Regions from separate parts of the Homo sapiens genome. Here all the other regions are linked to region 1. Evidence: promoter capture Hi-C in 16 types of primary human blood cells and fetal thymus (Javierre and others, 2016). All regions are on one chromosome and are shown on one strand. The core of a region is centred on a gene start or on the middle of the fragment in contact, and the rest is flanking DNA. Distances in the headings are between cores, read along the strand shown.

Region 1 (2,977 bases), core at 243-2,742:
CATTTCCGGGGTCTGGCCGTGTTTGCACCAACTGTCTGGGGTGTGGGGCGAGGCGTGCACAGGATTAAAGGAGATGGTGTCCTAGGGCTCTGGGCTGCAGCCTGGGGAGGTACACACAGGTCAGCCTTTGCCTCCCCAGGGTAAGTTTCCGGTGAAGAACATTCTTTACAAGTAAGAGGATCCTCTGAGCCTACTGGCCGAGGGGCCCAGCTTGGGGCTGAGGCTGGCCTGGGGCTGAGGCTGGCCTCTACTTACCGGCTAGGTCTTGAGCAAACGAACTGGCTTCCCTGGGCCTCCTTTTCCCTGTCCTTAAAATGGTGCAGGTGAGGACAATAGGAGCCCCAAGGGGTGCTGTGAGGGTGGCCAGTACGTGCCCTGCTAAGGGCTCCATAAAGCCTAATTTGTGGTCATGAGAGGGGGTGCAGCAGGACAGGGTGGGGGCAGCTCTTGAAAGCCCCATAAACTAAGAGAATAGAAAGGAAGGCACCCTGTCTCCACAGTGGAGGCCACCCCTTTGGCCAGAGGGAGGGTTGGCTGCTGCCCGGCCAAGGAGGGGCAGAGAGAATCTGGCAGAATTCACTGAGCCCTCGTGCTGGCAGCCCTGGAATGGGACCCTCCTGGGCCGTCCCTGGCCTGATGAACTGGCCCTGAGGCTACCTACCCCACAGCTTGGCTCGGATCCCGGCCACCCAGCTTCCAAGAAAGCCTGGAACCAGGAAAGGAGCGCCGCTGGCGTGGAAAGACACACTTGCATCCTAAAACACTTGGCCTCTGGTTGTGTTTCAGGAACTGGGAGGTGAGACCCTTTCTGGTGACTGACAGTTTTGTGCCTCTGGGCGCAGAGCCCTGTGGCTGGCCCTGGTATCCCCCCCTCCCCCCTCTCCCCGCTCTCCCTGGCCAATGCCAGCAACAACCCAGAGGGTAGCCCCACCACTTGCCAGGTTCAACGCAGTGTCCCCCGCAGCAGCCACGTGAGGTTCCTCGGATGGGGAGCTGTCCCTCCCCCCTGCCCCGCCCCTGGCCCCAGCCACACAGCGCCCACCCTCCTTGTTTAAGGGCCAGGAGGCCAGACTGCTGGGGCAAAGCTGTCACAGCAGCGAGGGAGAGAGCGCTGTCCCCCTCCCCTTCAAAAGCCACCTTGGCAAGGCATTAGCTAAACATCTTCTCGGTCCCAGAAGGCTTCCCCTGTGAAGTCTGCAGCGTTCAAACGACAACCAGCAAATCCCCAGAGACAGGTCCCTGGGAATTAGCTGCGCCGGGCGGGATGAAAGCCGCTCTGATGTTCTGGAGCGAGAGAGTAGAGAGAAGGAGGAAGACAGACACTACCTGCCAGTCGCAGGGTCCCGGGCAGCAGCAGCACGCCAAGGAGGAGCCAGGGGGCTGCGGGGAGCCCAGGAGGGCGTGGGAGGCCTGGCAGGGCCCGCCACCTCACAGGCTGGTTCTCCATCTGGGGGCCTGCTTGTCTGCGGCGACTCTTTAGTTCACAGGAGGGGACGGCCGGCGCTGACAGCTTCCCCTTTGCTTTCCCCACGAAGCTCCTCCCTGGCAGCCCCTGACCTTCCGCTCAGAAGCAAAGCTGGAACAGCCCAGCAGGGTGGCCGCCAGATGAGGAACCTGGCACTGAGACTGGTCCAGGCCACACAACCAGAAGAAGAGCTGGAGACGGGACCCAAGCCTCCCCACTCCAACCCCTGGTGGGCTTCACCCTGTCTCGGCCCCTTTCCAGCAGGGGCCCCGTCCAGGAGACACTGGTAACTGTGCAGAGGGATCATGGGATTTCCATGAGTGACTTCGGGCCTTGGTTTAGCCTCTCACTTCTGAAACACTTTTAAAACGACCACAAGCATGTTCACACAAACTTCTCTAAAATATTCTGAGAATCCCTTAATAATGTGTTTACCAAAGGTAGGTTTTTTGGTGAGGGGTGGTAGGGAGGCTGGGGTGAAGGGCAGGAGCCTCATGTTCCCAGCCCTAGAGAGGGCCAAACACCCAGGGCAGGTGAAAGGCAGGCTGCCCATCATTCACCCAGCGAGAACCTCTGTGGGTCCCCTGCAGAGGCCCAGGAGACGCCTCCTCTCTGGTCCATCTCTAACGTCAGCTCCTCCCTGTGGCTGCCCTAAAGCTTAGCTCACTCGGCCTCCCAACTGTGAGACCCTCGAACTGCTTCCCCATTGGCTGCAGGTCACAGCCCCTGCTCTCACTTCTAGCAGCATCAGCCGGGGACAGGAATTGTTTGCTGCCGGGACCCCCTTCCCCAGCAGACTGGGAGCCCCTCACCCTTGGCACCCACACATCTGCCTGCGTGTCTGGAGTGGCAGAGGAAAGGGGCTGGGGTGTGGTGATGGCTGGTGGAGCTGGAGGCACCTGGTACATGGAAGACGCAGGCGGGAAGGTGGCTGAGTTTCAGCGCATGCTGAGCGCTTACCTCCCTTCTCTGCAGGTGTCCCTTCACTCACCAGATAAATGTGATGATCCCAGTTGTACAAAAGAGAAGACCTCGGCCCCAGGAGGCAAAACAACATGCCTAGGATCAGGGCAGGTCTGTGGGGCGGGCATTTGAACTGCCAGTGGTATGATGTCCGAGCCTTCTCCCACCCTGCTACTGCCTGCTCAGGTGTGTCCAGCTGCAGCCCCCGGTGACGGCATCATGAGATCCATTTCAGTTCTTTGCACACATGCTTTTCCCTGGGCTGCTCCAAACATGAACAGTGAAAGCCTAAAGACGTTTCCACCAATGCCACGAGCACTGGGAGGCTGGCAAGAGCAGGGGCCGCCCACCAGGGGAGGAAGACATATGAACAGGAGAAGTTTCCTACCGCGCAGGGGGCAGGCGGGGACCCCAGTGTTATTGACTGTTGATCCATCACAGTGATACATGCTCACATATGTCACAGTGAGATGCAGACCCGCTGCTTCACGCTATTCCTGGCTCCTGGGAGTAGCAGGTTGTCTAAGCACCTTGATGCCATGGTGATAG
Region 2 (2,977 bases), core at 280-2,779, 460 kb before region 1:
GTCCAGCCTGGGTGACAGAGTGAGACTCTCAAGAAAAAGAAACTTACTGAAGCCAATTTTTGCCAGACCCTGGGGCCCAGAGAAGAAGATCCAGGACCTTCATAACTGAGCTTTCCACCCAGGCATGGTGGCTCACGACCGTAATCCCAGCACTTTGGGAGGTGGAGGTAGGAGTATTGCTTGAGCTCAGAAGTTCGAGACCAGCCTGAGCTACATAGGGAGACCCCCGTCTCTACAAAAAATAAAAACTTAGCTGGGCGTGGTGGTGCATGCCTGTGGTCCCAGCTACTCTGGAGGCAGAAGTGGGAGGATCACTTGTGCCCAAGAGGCTGCAGTGAGCCATGATGGCGCCACTGTCTTCCAGCCTGGGCGACAGAGTGAAACCCTGTTCAAAAAAACTAATAACAACAACAGCAACAACAAACGAAACAGAGCTGAGCTAATATGGTAGCCACAGATTAAAATAAACTAAAAAATCCAGTTCCTTGGTCACTGTAGACACATTTTAAGTGATCGGTAGCCATCTGTGGCTAGTGGCTACTGTACTGGACAGCACAGACATAGAACATTTCCATTATCACTGAAAGTTGTATTGCCCAGCGCAGCTCCAGAAGCTCACTCGCTAAAGAGAGAGACACACAGGAGAGCAGACCAGACAACACAGTGTTGTGTGGGCTGCAATGTCCTCCTCGGTAAAAAGCAGGTGATGAGGCGGAGATTAAAGGAGATGCCAGGAGAATGCTTAGCCTAGTTCCTGACTCAGGGTGAGTGCTCGGAGGACATCTGCCATCACCGTACAGGACAGTACTATAGGATCTGTTTACATACCTATCTTCCTAGCAGACTGTGAGCTCCGCCCAGCCCTGGCATGGTGCCGGGCACAGAGCAAGTGCTCAGGAAATAGTAGCTGTTATCAGCACCATTGTTATTATCACCACTGCTATGACAGAGGCAGCCGAGGGCTGTGGGAACACAGAAGAGGGCTCCCATCCCAGCCCCAGGGCCAGGGGCTGCTGAGAGTCGGCATTGCCAGAGCCAGGCTGGGTGGCTTTGTGGTCCCCTCAGGGGCAGGCCTAGGGCGGGGTCCTCTTCACACCCTTAGGGTCTGGGTACAGGGTCCAGCTGGAGCAAGCTGGGGCTCAGGGAATAGTTGTGGAAGGAGCTCTAGCCTCCAGGAACTCCAGCCCCCTTGAGGAAAGACCAGGTGAGTGGGCAAGATGGTCTGAGGGTTGCAGAGCTGAACAGGGCATGAAGGGCACAGAGGCAGAGCCAGAGGGAGACTCGCGCTGGGACTACCAGAGTGCAGCCATATTTGGAGTACCCCTGTTTTTACTGCAGACTCCCCAGGCATCAAAGTCTGTGGGAGACAGAGCAGATTTGGGGAGGGCAGGCTGCAGGGAACCTCCCTGCAGGTGGCCGTGAGTGCCAGCCTGGCCGTTACCAGCCTCCCATGGCTCTTCAGGATTCCAGAGGCTCAGAGCAGCCATTCACAGCCGCCCACTCCTAGGAAGCCAGCCCCTCCCTGCACCAGAGCCCAGCCCAGCACGGTCTCCGGGGATGTAGCTGGTGGGACAGTGAGCAGAGGGCTGGGCCCTGTGCCTGGGGACTGTGGCCTGGAGGCTGAGCAGGAGCTGAGGAGGGGACCAGAGGGACAAGGCCCCTAAGCTGGCCACCATGGCCAGACTCTGAGTGCAGGGGAGGTGAGGGGCCTGCGTGTGCCTTATCTTCCCAGACACACTGGATCCTTCTTGTCCTCTGATCAAGGTAGGTGTGTAGGGGGGTGGAAGGGTGTGGGGGTTTGTGGGGGTGGGAGGGTGGTGGGGGTGGGGTGGGGAAGGACCAAGCAATCCATGGAAGATGGGAGTGCAGTGAGGGGATGGGGAGTCGGGTGATGCCCTCGGACACCCTGTCCTCTGGCCTGCTCTGTGTGTGGGTGTGCACACTGAGGGGAGCTGTTTGTGGCTAAGTGCAGGGTAAACGTGTGTGCCCAAGTGGATGTGGCTGTGCAGGAGGGGGCAGAAGTTCAGGGCTGCAGTGATAGGCCAGGTGGGAAAGGGTTGGAGGCCAGGACAGTCTTGGATACAAATATATGGCTGGAGAGGGATGAGGGGCTGGGGGCACCATTGTGAGGGGTGATGCCTTCCCTGTCCGGTGCCCTGCCTTCCCCGTCCCTGCTGCAGACCTCAAGGACCTGGCTACATGATCACTCCCCTCCCCATGAGCCCTCTGGAACTGACTCCTCCCACCAGCCCTGGCCTTGTCCCCCAGCTGCAGGTCCCAGCCTGCTGTGTTAAAAGCAACCAAACCAACTTTTTTCTAGAGGGTGAGTTACTTGGAGTCCAGAGTAGCAGGGAGTGGCCCATCTACTAAGACCACAGCCAGAGTCCTGAGCTTCATCCTCGACACCTCTTTGTGCCCACTCCCTACCCTGGGCAGTCCCGCCACTTCTACCCCTGTGCAATGCAGCCTCCTCCAGCCCCAGCCCTAGCTCTGCCCCTTGCACAGCCCACGGAGCAGAGAGTTTCAACTATGTCCTCATGGGATCCTGGCTTCAATTCTGTTCCCATCTGATCCCTCTGTCACACTGCCCGAGTGGCCGTTCCCACCTACAGATCGGAATGGGTCACATTCCCTGGCCTAAACTTTGCTGTAGCCTGGCCTGGACCCCAGCTCACCTGCAGCCTTGGCTCTCCCCTCCCTGCTACATACAGCCTAGGAGCCCCATGTTGGATTTTCAGAAAGATGCCACACTTTCTCACCTTTGGGCCTTCTGTAGGAACAGCCCCAGCTCAGGTCTAGCCTCCCGCCTTTCTACCCCTAATGCTTAGCTTGGTGGAGCCCTGCCTACTTCCTTGCCTGGCATCCCTGGGCATGGCAGCCTCTTCAAGGGCGGGGACCATGGCTTGTTCACCAGATAAGCTCCTTCTGTGAACACTCACTGCCTCTCCATTTCCCATCCTCACCTTCTCCAGGGCTG
Region 3 (2,977 bases), core at 200-2,699, 440 kb before region 1:
AGAGGATGGCACAAGCAAGGTAAGCCCCAAATTTTCTAGGAACCAGGCAGTGATGGTAGGGGGAGAAGAGAGATGAAACAAGACCCCTGGGCTAGACCCAGGAACTCAACAGAAGGCTGGTTTTATCCCTCCCTAGGCTTCGACCCCCTGGTCAGAATGAACCATCAGACAGACTGACTTAGTGAGTCCCTGAGATTGCAAAATAGAGCCAAGTTGGGGTCTCAGAGCCTGAGGTAGGATGGGGGCATAGACTGTCAGATTGTGGGAAGGGCAAGGCCTCCAGTTTGGCCCTGCAGGACTAACTCTGGGGGCTAGGAGGAGACCTGTCAAGAAGTAGTCTGATAGGCAGAACAAGATGTACACACTAGGCACGGTGGCTCTCGCCTATAATCCCAGCACTTTGGGAAGCCGAGGCAGGAAGATTGCTTGAGTCCAGGAGTTCAAGACCAGCGTGGGCAACATGGCAAGACATTGTCTCTACACAAAATTTAAAAATTAGCCAGACATGGTAGTGCGCAACTGTGGTCCCAGCTCCTCTGGAGGCTGAGGTGGGAGGATTGCTTGAGCCCTGGAGGTCAAGGCTGCAGTGAGCCAATGACCATATCACTGCACTCCAGCCTGGGTGACAAAGTGAGACCCTGTCTCAAAAAAAAAAAAAAAAAAAAAGACACACACAGTGTTGTTTTTTTTTGGTTGTTGTTGTTTGTTTTTTGTTTTTGAGACAGACAAAAAAGGAAAAAAGACACACACGCACAAGGACATATGAGTAGAGACAGTAGTCCACAGATGCTCCCAGGAGAAAGAAATCCCTGAGTCAGAAAAGATGTCCTGAAGTGGTGGTTTGAGGGGGGCTTAAAGAGAGGCAGAATCTGCAAGGGGACTGAAAAAGAAAAAGGCAGGTGTTGAGGCTGCTCTACAGACGGCAAGGCAGTGGGGCTGTGTCGGAGACGAGAGGTAGCAGCCTCTTGGCCTCAGCCAGATGCCCAGCCCAGTCCTCTTCTCCTGTGGGTGTCCTGGAGTGGTGGTGGTGGCTGAGTTGGGGAGGGCAAGGTGGCTCTGATGATTCTGCCTTTTCTGTGCCCCAGCTTGCGACCTCTGGATCTTGAGTTCATGAAACACCTCAGCAAGGTTGTGAACATCATCCCTGTCATTGCTAAGGCTGACACCATGACCCTGGAGGAGAAGTCTGAATTCAAGCAAAGGGTGAGAAGGCCCCCTGTCTTCTTTTCCTGTTCCCATCCCCTCCTTTCTCTCCGCTGGGTTCAGGCCATCTCCTAGCCCTCATCATTCTGCCTTCACCCCCACCCTCAACCCTCCCCCAATTCTCCACCCCAGCCCCCTTCTTAACCATTCAAGAGGCTGAGGTTGGTGGTATCTGGGGACTATGATGAAGAAAAGATGGCACAGCTCTGGGCTGCCTTCTTCCCACCCTCCAAACCTACCTGTGAAGACCACTGAATACATGTATCACTGTGTACATAAGAAATCACTCCTCCAACGTTAGCCTAATTGAAGGGCTAGACTAATTAGTGAGTCAACTGGCCACTAGTCCTCACTGGCATCTTCTCTTTGTTTTTTTTTTGGAGTCTCTCTCTGTCGCCCAGGCTGGAGTGCAGTGGCGTGATCTCGGCTCACTGCAAGCTCCGCCTTACGGGTTCACGCCATTCTCCTGCCTCAGCCTCCTGAGTAGCTAGGACTACAGGCACCCACCACCACGCCTGGCTAATTTTGTTTTTCTCTTTTTAGTAGAGATGGGGTTTCACTGTGTTAGCCAGGATGGTCTCGGCTAGTCTTGATCTCCTGACCTCGTGATCTGCCCGCCTCGGCCTCCCAAAGTGCTGGGATTACAGGCGTGAGCCACCGTGCCCAGCCCTCACTGGCATGTTCTATAAGCTCAGCCCTGTGCTGGATGTACAGGGTTGGGGAGGGGCGATTTGAGAGAAATGAAAAGACAATTGCTGCCTTTAAGAAATTTACAATCCAGTTGGGCGTGGTGGCTCATGCCTGTAATCCCAGCACTTTGGGAGGCAGAGGCGGGTGAATCACGAAGTCAGGAGATCAAGACCATCCTGGCTAACACGGTGAAACCCCGTCTCTACTAAAAATACAAAAAAATTAGCCGGGTGTGGTGGCGGGTGCCTGTAGTCCCAGCTACTCAGGAGGCTGAGGCAGGAGAATGGCATGAACCCGAGAGGCGGCGCTTGCAGTGAGCTGAGATCGTGCTACTGTACTCCAGCCTGGGCGACAAAGTGACACTCTATCTCAAAAAAAAAAAAAAAAAAAAAAAGAAACTTACAATTGGCTGGGGGCGGTGGCTCACGCCTGTAATCCCAGCACTTTGGGAGGCCAAGGCGGGTGGATCACCTAAGGTCAGGAGTTCGAGACCAGCCTGGCCAACATGGTGAAACCCCATTTCTACTAAAAATACAAAAATTAGCTGGGCGTGGTGGCATATGCCTGTAAGCCCAGCTACTAGGGAGGCTGAGGCAGGAGAATCACTGGAACCCGGGAGGTGGAGGTTGTAGTGAGCCAAGATCGCACCACGGTACTCCAGCCTGGGCAACAGAGCAAGACTCGGTCTCAAACAAACAAACAAACAACAAACAAACAAAACTTATAATCAAATAGAAAATGAAGAGGTCCTGGATGGTTTCCTGGAGAAGGCAAGACTTAAGTCGACCTTGAAAGAGGGCAAACAGTCTCGGAGTAGGGGGAGCCTCACCTTTCTTCCTTCCAATCAGGAATATAACATGCAGGGGTCTGAGCACTCCCCAGTGGGCTCACCTGTGCTGCTTGTGTAAATCCCAGTCTCGCGGACCCTGAGATGAGCAAGCTGGTTGCGAGGCGCCTGGGACCTGAAGTTGCACCTCCTGGCCTCTTCCTCCTCTCAGGCTAGGTTGTAATTGTATAGCTGGGGCTTGCATTTATTCACCATCTTCCTGCTGCTCAGGGTCTCAGAGTTCAGAGATGACTGTGG
Region 4 (2,977 bases), core at 172-2,671, 420 kb before region 1:
ATCACAGCTTGCTGTGTTTTGTAGAGATTTTTTCTGACCCCAGCTGAGAAGTCATGAACATATGGGACAGACTCTACTGTAAAATGGGAATCATTGAGTTGTTTTATTTTATGCATTGTTAAAACGTGTGCTGGAAACCTGTCATTATAGAAAAATCAGAAGAAAAAATCTGTTATCCCAAATTTTTACCAGTAATGTTTGCATTTTGGTATATGTCCTTCTGTACTTTTCCACATGGAAATAAACAGTTTTTTTCTCCAACTGCTTTATAACTTATTTTCCTCATTTGCCAGTATATTGGGAATGTTTTCTAGTGTATCTACATCATTATTTTCAATGGCTGGTATTCCAGTGTGCATAAATCTTTACTCAACCCCTAATCTGGAATAGTCTGGGTTTTTGTTTTGTTTTTTGTTTGTTTGTGGTTTTTTTGGTCATTACTATAAACATTCCTGCAATGAACATTTTTGAAAACATAATTTTGCCTACCTGTCAAAATGTTTCTTTGGGATAGGGGAATTGTGAGGTCAGAGGATTAGACTTTTAAAAAGAGATTAAAAATATTTATTGAAAATATAAAAATCATTGTTCAAAATATTAAAGTATACATGACTTTACATTAAAATACACTTATTGCAGAATTGCCCTACAGAATTATATCAATTTACATTCCTCTCAGTACTCTGAGTGCCCACTTCACCATACTTTTCCCAACAATTCTGTTCCCATTAAACAATTCCCTCTATCCCTCTCCCCATGACACCTAGTAACAACCATTCTACTTTCTGTTTCTATGAATTTGACTACTTCAGATACCTCATGTAAGTGTAATGACAATATTTGTCTTTTTGTGGCTGGTTTATTTAACTTAGCGTAACATCCTCAAGGTTCGTCCATGTTACAGCATGTGACAGGATTTCCTTCTTTTAAGGTTGAAAAATATTCCATTGTATGTATGTGCCACATTTTGTTTATCCATTCATGCACTGATGGACATTTAGGTTGCTTCCACCTCCTGGTTATTGTGAATAGTGCTGCTATCAACATAAGTATTCAAATATCTATTTGAGACACTGCTGGCAATTCTTTTGGATGTATACCCAGAAGCAGGATTGCTAGCTTGTACGGTAGTTCTATTTTTAATTTTTTTTGAGGAGCCTCCGGACTGTTTTCCATAGCAGCTACTCATTTTACATTTCTAGCAACAGTGCACAAGAGTTCCGGTTTCTCCACATCCTCACCAACACTTGTTTTTCTTCTCTTCTCTTCTCCTCTTCCTTTCCTTTCCTTTCCTTTCCTTTCCTTTGCTTTCCTTTCCTTTCCTTTCCTTTCCTTTCCTTTCCTTTCCTTTCCTTTCTCCCTCCCTTCCCTCTCCCTCCCCCTCCCCCTCTCCTCCCCTCCCTTCCCTTTTTTTGACAGAGTCTCACTCTGTCACTCAGGCTGTAGTGTAGCAGCAGGATCTTGGCTCATTGCAGCCTTAGCTTCCGGGGTTCAAGTGATTCACATGCCCTCAGCCTCCTGAGTAGCCAGGATTACAAGCATATGCCACTACACCCAGTTTTTTGTATTTTTAGTAGAGACGGGGTTTCGCTGTGTTGGCCAGGCTGGTCTCAAACTCTTAGCATCAAGTGATCCACTCACCTTGGCCTCCCAAAGTGCTGGGATTACAGGCATGAGCCACCATGCCTGGACCTGTTGGTTTTTTAAATATTAACCATCCTAATGGGTATAAAGTGATGTCTCATTGTGGTTTTGATTTGTATTTCTCTGATGATTAGTAATGACAATCTTTTTATATGCTCATTGGCCATTTGTGTATTATTGCTCTTGTTGCCCAGGCTGGAGTGCAATGGTGCGATCTCAGCTCACTGCAACCTCTGCCTCCCAGGTTCAAGTGATTCTCCTGCCTCAGCCTCCTGAGTAGCTGGGATTACAGGTGCCCACCACCACACCTGGCTAATTTTTTTTATTATTTTTTTTCTAAGATGGAGTCTCGCTCTGTTGCCCAGGCTGGAGTGCAGTGGCACGATCTTGGCTGACTGCAAGCTCCGCCTCCCAGGTTCACACCATTCTCCTGCCTCAGCCTCCTGAGTAGCTGGGACTACAGGTGTCCACCACCACGCCCGGCTAATTTTTTCTATTTTTTAGTAGAGACGGGGTTTCACCGTGTTAGCCAGGATGGTCTCGATCTCCTGATCTTGTGATCCACCCGCCTCAGCCTCCCAAAGTGCTGGGATTACAGGCGTGAGCCACTGGGCCTGGCCAATTTTTTTGTATTTTTAGTAGAGACAGGGTTTCACCATGTTGGGCTGGCTGGTCTTGAACTACTGACCTCAGTTGATCCACCCACCTTGGCCTTGTGCTGGGATTACAGGGAGCTCTTTACATACTCTAGATATTAAGCCCTTATCATAAATACAATTTGAAATATTTTCTCCCATTCCATAGGTTGCTGTTTCATTCTGGTGATTGTGTCCTTTGATACACAATTTTTAAGTTTGATATAGTCCAATTTATTTATTTGTTCTTTTGTTGCCGGTGCTTTTGTTTTTTTATCCAAGAAGTCATTGACAAGTCCAATGTCACGAAGATTTTCAGTATGTTTTTTTCTAGGAGTTTTATAGTTTTGGGTCTTATGTTTAAGTCTTTAATCCATTTTGAGTTAATTTTTGCATACTATGTAAGATAAAGGTATGACTTCATTCTTTTGCATGTGGATATCCAGTTTTCTAAAAGGACATCATTTGTTAAATAGATTGTCTTTTCCTCACTGAGTCATCTTAGTACCTTTGTTGAAGATTATTTGATCAATTCTCACATATATGTGAAGATTTGTTTCTATTCTAGTCCATTGGTTTGTTTATCTTTAATGCCAGTATCATGCTGTTTTGGTTACTGTAGCTTTGTAATATACTTTGAAATCAGGAAGTGTGAATCCTCTTTGTTCTTCTTTTTAAAAATTATTTGGCTTTTTGGG
Region 5 (2,977 bases), core at 258-2,757, 390 kb before region 1:
CCGGGTTCACGCCATTCTCCTGCCTCAGCCTCCCGAGTAGCTGGGACTACAGGCACCTGCCATCACGCCCAGCTAATTTTTTGTACTTTTAGTAGAGACGGGGTTTCACCGTGTTAGCCAGGATGGTCTCGATCTCCTGACCTCAGGTGATACACCCACCTCGGCCTCCCAAAGTGCTGGGATTACAGGCGTGAGCCACTGCGTCCAGCTGGATTTTTTTTTTCTTTTTCGAGATAGGGTCTTACTCTGTTGCCTAGGCTGCAGTGCAGTGGTATGATCATTGCTCACTGCAGCCTCAATCTCCTGGGCTCAGGTGATCCTCCTGCCTCAGCCTCTCTTACGTAGCTGGGACTACAGGTGCACACCACCATTCCTGGCTAATTTTTTTTTTTTTTTGAGACAGAGTCTCACCCCGTTGCCCAGGGTGGAGTGCAGTGGCACTGTGTCGGCTCACTGCAATTTCCGTCTCCTGGGTTCAAGCAATTCTCTTGCCTCCATCTCCCAAGTAGCTGGGATTACAGGCGCCCACCACCATGCCTGGCTAATTCTTGTATTTTTTTTTAGTAGAGACAGGGTTTCACCATGTTGGACAGGCTGGTGTCGAACTCCTGACCTCAGGTGATCCACTCGCCTTGGCCTCCCAAAGTGCTGGGATTACAGGCTTTTTTTTTTTTTTTCCAGTATCAGTGAGGTCTTCCTGTGTTGCCTAGGCTGGTCTCAAACTCTAGAGCCCAAGCAATCCTCCTGGCTCAGCGTTCCAAAGTACTGTGATCATAGGTGTGAGCCACTACGCTCAGCCTGGAATGTTTTTGATTACTGATTCAACTCCTTGTTTGTTATTGGTCTGCTCAGACTTTCTGTTTCTTCTTGATTCGGTCTTGGTAGTGTGTGTGTTACTAAGGATTTATCCATTTCTTCTAGGTTATTCCATTTATTGGCATATAGGTTGTCATAATAGTCCCTTATGATCCTTTTTATTTCTGTGTCATCCATTGTAATGTCTCCTCTCTTATTTATGATTTTATTTATTTGAATCTTCTTTTTTAATCTAGCTAAAGGCTTGATGATTTTGTTGATCTTTTTAAAAAGCCAACTTAGTTTTTTCTATTCTCTATTTTGTTTATTTCTGCTCTAATTTTTCTTATTTCTGTCCTTCTGCTAACTTTGGGTCGAGTTTGTTCCTCTTTTTCTAGTTTCTTGATTTGTACAGTTAGGTTTTTTTTTTTTTTTTCCTCGAGATGAAGTCTTGTTTTGTTACCCAGAGCTGGAGTGCAGTGGCTCAACCTCAGCTCACTGCAACCTCCGCCTCCTGGGTTCAAGCGATTCTCCTGCCTCAGCCTCCAGAGTAGCTGGGACTACAGGCAGGCACCACCATACCCGGCTAATTTTTTGTATTTTTAGTAGACATGGGGTTTCACTATGTTGGACAGGCTGGTTTCGAACTCTTGACTTCAAGTGATCCACCCGCCTTGGCCTCCCACCATGCCTTGGCCAATGTTAGGTTCTTTAATTGAGATCTATCTTCTCTCTCTCTCTTTTTTTTTTTTTAGACAGAGTCTTGCTCTGTTGCCTAGGCTGGAGTGCAATGGTGCGATCTCAGCTCACTGCAACCTCCGCCTCCTGGGTTCAAGTAATTCTCCTGCCTCAGCCTCCTGAGTAGCTGGGATTATAGTTGCCTGCCACCACGCCTGGCTAATTTTTTGTATTTTAGTAGAGACGAGGTTTCACCATGTTCGCCAGGCTAGTCTTGAACTCCTGACCTCAAGTGATCTGCCTGCCTCGGCCTCCCAAAGTGCTGGGATAACAGGTGTGTGAGCCACCTCGCCTGACCGAGATCTTTCTTCTTTTTAAACATAGGTGTTTAATGCTATACATTTCCCTTATGGAACTGCTTTTGCTGATTCCTGTAAATTTTAGAAAGTTAGAATTTTATTTTTGTCTCAAGATATTTTAAAATTCTCTCTGGATTTCCTCTTTTATCCAGTTGTTCAAGAGTGTATTGTTTTTATGAATTTGTGAATTTTTCTATTTTCTTTATGTTACCGATTTCTAGTTCTTTCCACTGTGGCCTAAGAAGATACCAGGTATTATTTCAATCTTCTTAAATTTGTTAAAACTTGTTTTGTGACTTAAGATGTGACCTATCCTGGAATATGTTCCATGTATACTTGAGATGAAATTGTATTCTGCTGCTGTTGGCTAAAACGTTCTGTATGTTAGGTCCATTTGGTGTATAGTGTTATTCAAATCAGTTGTTTTTTTATTGGTTGTCTGCCTGAATGTGCTATCCATTATTAAAAGTGGAATATTGAATTCTCCTACTATTAAATTGTTTTTAACCTCTTTCTTCATATCTGTCCATATTTGATTTATATATTTAAGTGCTCTGATGTTCAGTACATACATGTTTATAATTGTTATAGCTTCCTGTTGAATTGAAACTTTTATCATTATATGACTTTCTTTGTCCCTAGTAACAGTTTTGGACTTAAAAGTCTGTTTTGGCTGGGCACAGTGGCACACGCCTGTAATCCCAGCACTTTGGGAGGGGAGGCTGAGACAGGCAGATCACGAGGTCAAGAGAGCGAGACCATCCTGGCCAACATGGTGAAACCCCATCTCTACTAAAAATATATAAATTAGCTGGGCGTGGTGGCACACACCTGTAGTCCCAGCTACTCGGGGGGCTGAGGCAGGAGAATCACTTGAACCCAGGAGGCGGAGGTTACAGTGAGCCGAGATCATGCCACTGCACTCTAGCCTGGCAACAGGGCGAGGTTCTGTCTTTAAAAAAAAAAAAAAAAAAAAAAAGTCTGTTTTGTCTGATAAAAGTATAGCCACTTTTGCTCTCTTTTGGTTACCATTTGCATGGAGTATCTTTTTCTATCCCTTCACCTTTAGTCTGAGTGTCCTTATAGCTAAAGTAAGCCTTTAGCTTACTTCTTTTTATATTGTGACTCTATTACCAAATTTTTTT
Region 6 (2,977 bases), core at 282-2,781, 370 kb before region 1:
TTTATGGAGTACATGAGATGTTTTGATACAGGCATTGCATTCCTGTAATAATCACATCATGGAAAATGGGGTATCTAGTGCCTCAAGCATTTATCCTTTGTGACAAACAATCCAATTATACTTAGTTATTTTTAAATGTACCCATTGCCTTCTTGTTTCCATGGTTTCTGATGAGAAGTCAGTTGTAAATCTTATTGAGACTCCCTTGTGTGATGAGTTGCTTTTATCTTGCCTCTTTCAAAATTCTGTCTTTTGAGGGTTTGATTATGATATGTCTAGGTATGGAGCTCTTTGAGTTTAACCTACTTGGAGTTCACTGAGCTTCTTGGATAGGTAGATTAATATTTTCCATCAAATGTGAGACATTTTCAACCATTCTTTCTTCCAATATTCTGCCCCTTTCTCTTTTTTTATGTGTATATGGGTACATTTGGTGGTATCCCAAAGGTTTTAGAAGTTTTGCTCATTGTTCTTCATTCTTGTTTCTTTCTTTTTCTCAGAGAGGTTAATTTCAACAGATCTGTCTTCAAGTTTGCTGATTCTTTTTCTGTCAAATCTACTATTATTAAACCTCTTCAGTGAATTCTCATTTCAACTATTGTACTTTCCAACTTCAGAATTTGTGCTTTCTTCCCCACTACAGTTTTATCTCTTCTTTGTTATTCTGTTTGGGCATCATTCTTATTCTTTCCTTTATTTCTTTAGACCCGGCTTCCTTTGGCTCTTTGAACATGTTTAAAATAGCTGATTTAAAATCTGGTAATAAGGTAAAATACCACATAGCTTGCTGTTTCTACTAGAATTCAACTTTTTTTTTTTTCAGTTGAAGTTTTCTGGGTTGCCGCAAGCTTTTGGCTAATTTCCAGAGTTCTGTGAAAGTTGATTTTGATAGTATGTGGCAGGTTTTTCAATGCTTTTATGAAGGGAGCAAACTTTCAGTAGTTCGTACTGGACTATTTTACTGGATCTTGATTTAGACAAACTATAGAGATTTTTGAGACAACTGGCAAAAACTGAACATAGATTGGTTATTAGATTATTTTAAAATTATGTTTTTTTAGATAGGAAAATTGTATTAAGGTCATATATATATATATATATATACACATATATGTGTGTGTGTATGTATATATATATATATATATATATATATATATATTTTTTTTTTTTTTTTTTTTTTTTTTTTTTTTTGAGATGGAGTCTGGCTCTGTCACCCAGGCTGGAGTATGGTGGTGCCATCTCGGCTCACTGCAACCTCCGCCTCCCAGGATCACGCTGTTCTCCTGCCTCAGCCTCCCGAGTGGCTGGGACTACAGGCGCCCACCACCATGCCCGGCTAATTTTTTGTATTTTTAATAGAGATGGGGTTTCACCGTGTTAGCCAGGATGGTCTCAATCTCCTGACCTTGTGATCCGCCTACCTCAGCCTCCCAAAGTGCTGGGATTACAGGCATGAGTCACCGCGCCCGGCTCATATATGTATTTTTAAAGCCCTTATCTGTTAGAGACATAGTGGTTTTTAGGGTTTTCTGAAATTTCCTTTCAGATACTCTAGCTCACACATCAGAAGAGCATGTGCAGGAAGAGAGATGAAATAATGGTACACGTTGATGGTTACTGGAGCTGGATGCTGGGTACATGGAGGTTCACTCTACCATTTTATTTTTGTATTTGAAAGTTTTCATGATAAAAAGTTTTTAAAAAGAGAAAGGGTACCTTGCGTCCAAACAAGTCTGTATTTAACTGAAAAAAAAAAATAATTGCATTCCTAACTGGCCTTGAATAGAAGGGAATAAATGTCCTGGGAGATAGATGGCATGTTTGTTGAAAGAATGAAGGGTGAAGAGATAGGATCAATCAGGCACCCCCAGGACAAAAGGAAAACTTATACAGCAAGTAAAGACATGTAGCTATCTTGGGCTGAAAGGTAAGGGAATTAATTGGTCAAGTCCAGGCTCAACTCTGGCCCCCAACTCCCAAGTCCATGGTCTCAACTCATTTCCCACAAAGCCTTCCTGGAGCTAGCAAGAGAAGGTGTTCCCACCTGAGACTATTCCATTTTGCCTGAACAGCACTATGAACAAGACCCAAAGGCAGAGCTATGCACGGAGGGGCAGGCCTGGGATGAGGTAGGCTTCTGTCCTAAGTTTCTCAACAGCCTCAAGACATCAACTGGGGAAAGGAACTTTCTCTGGTGACCCTATACTTAACCAGTAAAGCTTCAATCATCTTAAATGATGTAACAAAATGTGCATATGTAAGTTTTTACACCATACCCTAAATACAAGGACCTCAGAACCCTGAGGAGTATGGGAGATCCACCCAGAAAATACTCCTTGGGCAGCACAGTGCAAGGCCTGGGGCACTGGGTGCTCCTGCATTCAAAGCCCAAGGAGGACCTAGCTAGGTTGCTCTGCCACTAGCTCTCTCCAAAGGGGAGAGCCACCAGGGAAGACAAGTGCCCTGTAGCCTTGGCTAAAAGAGGAGGGCTTGGGAAATACGGACCAAAGCAAGACAGGCAAGAACCCATCATTCCTTCACTTTGACTGTTACCCCTGTCCTTAGGAAGAGGGACAGGAAATCAATTTTAAGACACAACTCCTGGACAGGTTTGTGGACACATCTGGGGAATATGAACCTCCTTTGCAGCCAGGTTGGGAGAGAAATAAAGGAAAAGAAGTAGGGGTTGGGGTGGAGCCACCAGAGAGAAGAGCAGGCTGAGGTGCTGGGCCAGGGGCACTGCTGGGCAGAGCACAAGCTGCAGGACCTGGGAGCATTGCTACTTGGCCTCATTGTGTTGTCACCATCACCACTGCCAGCATACCAGGCACAGCAGGGGCAGCTCCTGGGTGTGAGGCAAGTCTGGCATCTCTAGGAAGTACAATCTTCTGGTCACTTTGGAAAAGGAGGGGCCAGACGATGCCAGACATCATCCATAGAGGTGAGATTTGAATCCAGCACCCCGTGTAGTGCCACC
Region 7 (2,977 bases), core at 172-2,671, 270 kb before region 1:
CAGCTATTTTATCCCCATGGCAGAGTGACCCCTGAAAGATGCACTAACCCCTTCTTAAGGCCATAACAAGATTTTTTTGTACTTTTTTCTTTTTTTAAAACTCAGATATTTAAAAATTATACAATTTACAAAACAAAACAACACAACATAAAGAATCACGTAGCATGGGGCTGCCTATCTGACAGGTCCTCTTTTCCTTTATAAAAATGAAAGCAAAAAGAAAAAGGGGTTAAATGGGTGTTCCTGGTCAGCTTAACCCACTCTGATCACAGCGACAGTCCCTCCCCGTCCCTGCCTACAGCTCACACTGCCAGCTCTGGCAACACAGGCCTGGACCTCCTCCCATCCCCACGGGTCCCTGTGGGTCAGGGCACAGCTGCCTGGAATGTGCTGAGGACAGGGGGCCCCAGAGGAGGGTCATCCCTTGATTTTGCTGCTGCTGTGTACACTTGATGGGGTCCTTGAGGTCCTCACCAGCCACAGTGACCCAGGACACAGCTATGACCTCAGGCATCTGCCAATTTCACCCCCAAAAAGAAAAAATTAAAAAAAAAAAACCATAAATAAATAGTGTTTCTGGAAATGAAAAAAAATTTATTTTTGTGTTTAAACATCATTCCCCTACTCTTGAAAACATGGACCATCCCTGTATTTCCCCCTCCCCCAAAACCTTCCCACTTTGAGACAAATTAATGACAAAAGGATGGTTCTGCTGTGGTTTGCTTTTTCAATCCTGGGTCTAGTGTTTTCTGAACTGGTGTGAGACAGGCTAAAGATCAACGCCACACACACACCCCGTCCTTCATGAGATGAGGGTTTGTTCAGTTCAATCTCACATTTAAATTTCACTTGTCATCGGAACAAATTTGGAGATCTTTAACGAGATAATTTTAAAACAGAATCAAAAGGGATAGCGCACCTTTCATTTAAACAAAGTCTTTCCAGACTAAAAATAGATTTATATATATATATTTATCCCTCCCTTTTAATTCCCCCCACCCTTTCCCCATCATCCCACCCCTCCCCCCTCCCCCCACATTGTCACTATGGAGATTGTGTCCATGGAAACAGCCATTCCAACGTCTTGGGTCTTTCTTTCCTGTGGTGTCACTGGTTTGAGTGTGATGTGAGAACTTAAGGAAGTGCTGGCATGGGCAGGCACGCGGGCGGGGCGGGGCGGGGCAGGGCAGGGTGTGGCTGCACGGTAGGACGATTTCCATTCCATCACGAGTGTCCACCACCTTCTCATCTCCACAGTCTCACCTGGAAGACAAGGGACACACAGTGAAGGCCAGGAGCCTCCACAGGGTCCACCACCAACAGCCGCTGTTCCGTGGTACCCCTGGGAGCTTTCAGCAGGGAGCCTGCACTCACGCCCCTCTGCAGATGTGCTGCTGATATGGGACACACCCGAGACCAATGCCAGGGCCACTGTGTGGCTCTGGATCTGGAATGTGATTAAAGGCAGCAATGACCTAGTGGGGGTGCTGGGGTTGGACTCTGAGGGCTCCTCAGGGCATGTCTGCCTTCCTAGTGCATAAAGGAACCAGTACAGCAGAGAACTCCCTGACCTCAGGGCAGGCCCCACTTGTGGGGCAGCTGGTGGGGTTTTGCCAGTGTCAGGACCCCAGTTGTGACTGAAACCTACAGTACCTGGTCAATCTGTGGAAGAAACTTCTCGAAGTCCAGCCTTTTAGGACAGTTTCACAGCTGCCTCTAGTCAACACAGCTAGTTGTTTGTTTTTGAGACAAGACATCGCTCTGTCGCCTTGGCTCCCTGCAGCCTTGACCTCCTGGGCTCAAGCAATCCTCCCACCTCAGCCTTCCAAGTAGCTGGGACTACAGGTACACGCCACCATGCTTGGCTAATGACAGTCTTTTTTTTTTTTTTTTTTTTTTTTTTTTGAGACAGTCTTGCTCTATTGCCCAGACTGGAGTGTAGTGGTGTGCTCTTGGCTCACTGCAGCCTCTGCCCCCTGGGTTCAAGTGATTCTTGTGCCTCAGCCTCCCAAATAGCTGGGATCACAGGTGCACGCCACCACACCCGGCTAATTTTTGTATTTTTAGGAGAGATGTGGTTTTGCCATGTTAGGCTGGTCTAGAACTCCTGGCCCCAGCTGATCTGCCCACCTCGGCCTCCCAAAGTGTTGGGATTACAGGCGTGAGCCACTACACCTGGCCCACAGTCAGTTCTTCATGCTTAAAAAGAACACTCTTCCCATGGCCTCTAACAGGGAGGGCAGGTTTTCTGAGGCTCAGACAGAGCTGGACTATGTTAATCCTTTCGACCTCTCAGGAACCTGAGACCCCTAGGTCTCCCATCCCCAGGCTGGAGGGCTTCTCTCCTCTTCCAGCCCATGTGCAGAAGGGGATTCTGATGGCCCACGTAGGACAGATGGATTGTACCAAAGGTCCCTGTGGAACGCTTCATGGGCCATCTGATGTGGAAAGGTCTCAAAGACAAACAGCAGTTTCCTAGGAATCAGTCCAGTAAAATTTCACCAGAAGCCAGAAGTGGTGGCAGCCTTGCCCCTCCTTCACTTGCTATCTGCCAATCACTGTGCTTAAGACTGTCACTGGGGCTCACCTAACTGCTTCCTCAAGACCAATTTGGTGCCCTCCCCTGACAAACCCCAAGAACCCAAGTGTCACCAGCCCTTTCTGCTTCCATAAAGTTCACACACGCAGAACTGCTAAGGCGGCTGGGGCCTGCGGGAGCTAAGATTGAGCTGTTCCCAAGCACGTACATGCACATGCTCTTGCCCAAGGAGGTTCCTGACTACTTGGCAGAAAACACCAATAAGCAGGAACACACACAGAGGCCATGGCACAACATCACCACAGACAAGTAAAAGCAAGCCCTGGGAATGCAGGCCAGCAGTTGAGCTAATGGGCACCTACCTCCAAGAACACAGAAGGGTGTCATCTTGTTGGGGCTGCAGGATGCCCGTGTGAATCAAGGCCAATGCCCACACGT

Evidence for each region. The method cuts DNA at HindIII sites, captures the fragments that hold promoters and counts their contacts. A CHiCAGO score of 5 or more calls a contact.
Region 2: a contact is called between the fragment with the promoter of SEPTIN3 here and the fragment with the promoter of NFAM1 in region 1, in 11 of 17 cell types (naive CD8 T cells, activated CD4 T cells, naive CD4 T cells and 8 more). The highest score is 13.0, in naive CD8 T cells.
Region 3: a contact is called between a fragment that was not itself captured here and the fragment with the promoter of NFAM1 in region 1, in 7 of 17 cell types (total CD4 T cells, naive CD4 T cells, activated CD4 T cells and 4 more). The highest score is 9.9, in total CD4 T cells.
Region 4: a fragment that was not itself captured here is called in contact with the fragment with the promoter of NFAM1 in region 1 in 5 of 17 cell types (non-activated CD4 T cells, activated CD4 T cells, total CD8 T cells and 2 more); the score reaches 5.8 in non-activated CD4 T cells.
Region 5: a fragment that was not itself captured here is called in contact with the fragment with the promoter of NFAM1 in region 1 in 3 of 17 cell types (naive CD8 T cells, total CD4 T cells and naive CD4 T cells); the score reaches 6.1 in naive CD8 T cells.
Region 6: a contact is called between a fragment that was not itself captured here and the fragment with the promoter of NFAM1 in region 1, in 7 of 17 cell types (activated CD4 T cells, non-activated CD4 T cells, naive B cells and 4 more). The highest score is 7.9, in activated CD4 T cells.
Region 7: a fragment that was not itself captured here is called in contact with the fragment with the promoter of NFAM1 in region 1 in 16 of 17 cell types (total CD8 T cells, endothelial precursors, naive CD8 T cells and 13 more); the score reaches 18.4 in total CD8 T cells.

Annotation. Positions count from the first base shown.
Region 1 is chr22:42,430,911-42,433,887 of GRCh38, forward strand. NFAM1 (NFAT activating protein with ITAM motif 1) reads right to left here and starts at 1,493. Exons shown (of 6, transcript NM_145912.8): 1 at 1,327-1,493. The coding sequence starts at 1,447. The HindIII fragment of the contact is 8,354 bases long and covers 1-2,120 here.
Region 2 is chr22:41,967,914-41,970,890 of GRCh38, forward strand. It overlaps SEPTIN3 (septin 3), which reads left to right and starts at 1,530. Exons shown (of 12, transcript NM_001363845.2): 1 at 1,530-1,764. The HindIII fragment of the contact is 14,934 bases long and covers 1-2,977 here.
Region 3 is chr22:41,988,482-41,991,458 of GRCh38, forward strand. It overlaps SEPTIN3 (septin 3), which reads left to right. Exons shown (of 12, transcript NM_001363845.2): 7 at 1,086-1,203. Among named protein-coding and RNA genes, the nearest start is that of WBP2NL, 8.8 kb to the right of the region's middle. The HindIII fragment of the contact is 8,041 bases long and covers 1-2,977 here.
Region 4 is chr22:42,006,815-42,009,791 of GRCh38, forward strand. All of the region lies in intron 1 of WBP2NL (WBP2 N-terminal like), which reads left to right. Among named protein-coding and RNA genes, the nearest start is that of WBP2NL, 9.5 kb to the left of the region's middle. The HindIII fragment of the contact is 4,325 bases long and covers 1-2,977 here.
Region 5 is chr22:42,038,694-42,041,670 of GRCh38, forward strand. It overlaps a transcript of WBP2NL not described here. Among named protein-coding and RNA genes, the nearest start is that of NAGA, 31 kb to the right of the region's middle. The HindIII fragment of the contact is 4,262 bases long and covers 1-2,977 here.
Region 6 is chr22:42,056,744-42,059,720 of GRCh38, forward strand. It overlaps NAGA (alpha-N-acetylgalactosaminidase), which reads right to left. Exons shown (of 9, transcript NM_000262.3): 9 at 1,591-2,977. It also overlaps a transcript of WBP2NL not described here. Among named protein-coding and RNA genes, the nearest start is that of NAGA, 13 kb to the right of the region's middle. The HindIII fragment of the contact is 1,371 bases long and covers 847-2,217 here.
Region 7 is chr22:42,160,096-42,163,072 of GRCh38, forward strand. It overlaps TCF20 (transcription factor 20), which reads right to left. Exons shown (of 6, transcript NM_001378418.1): 6 at 1-1,263. Among named protein-coding and RNA genes, the nearest start is that of CYP2D6, 31 kb to the left of the region's middle. The HindIII fragment of the contact is 4,008 bases long and covers 1-2,977 here.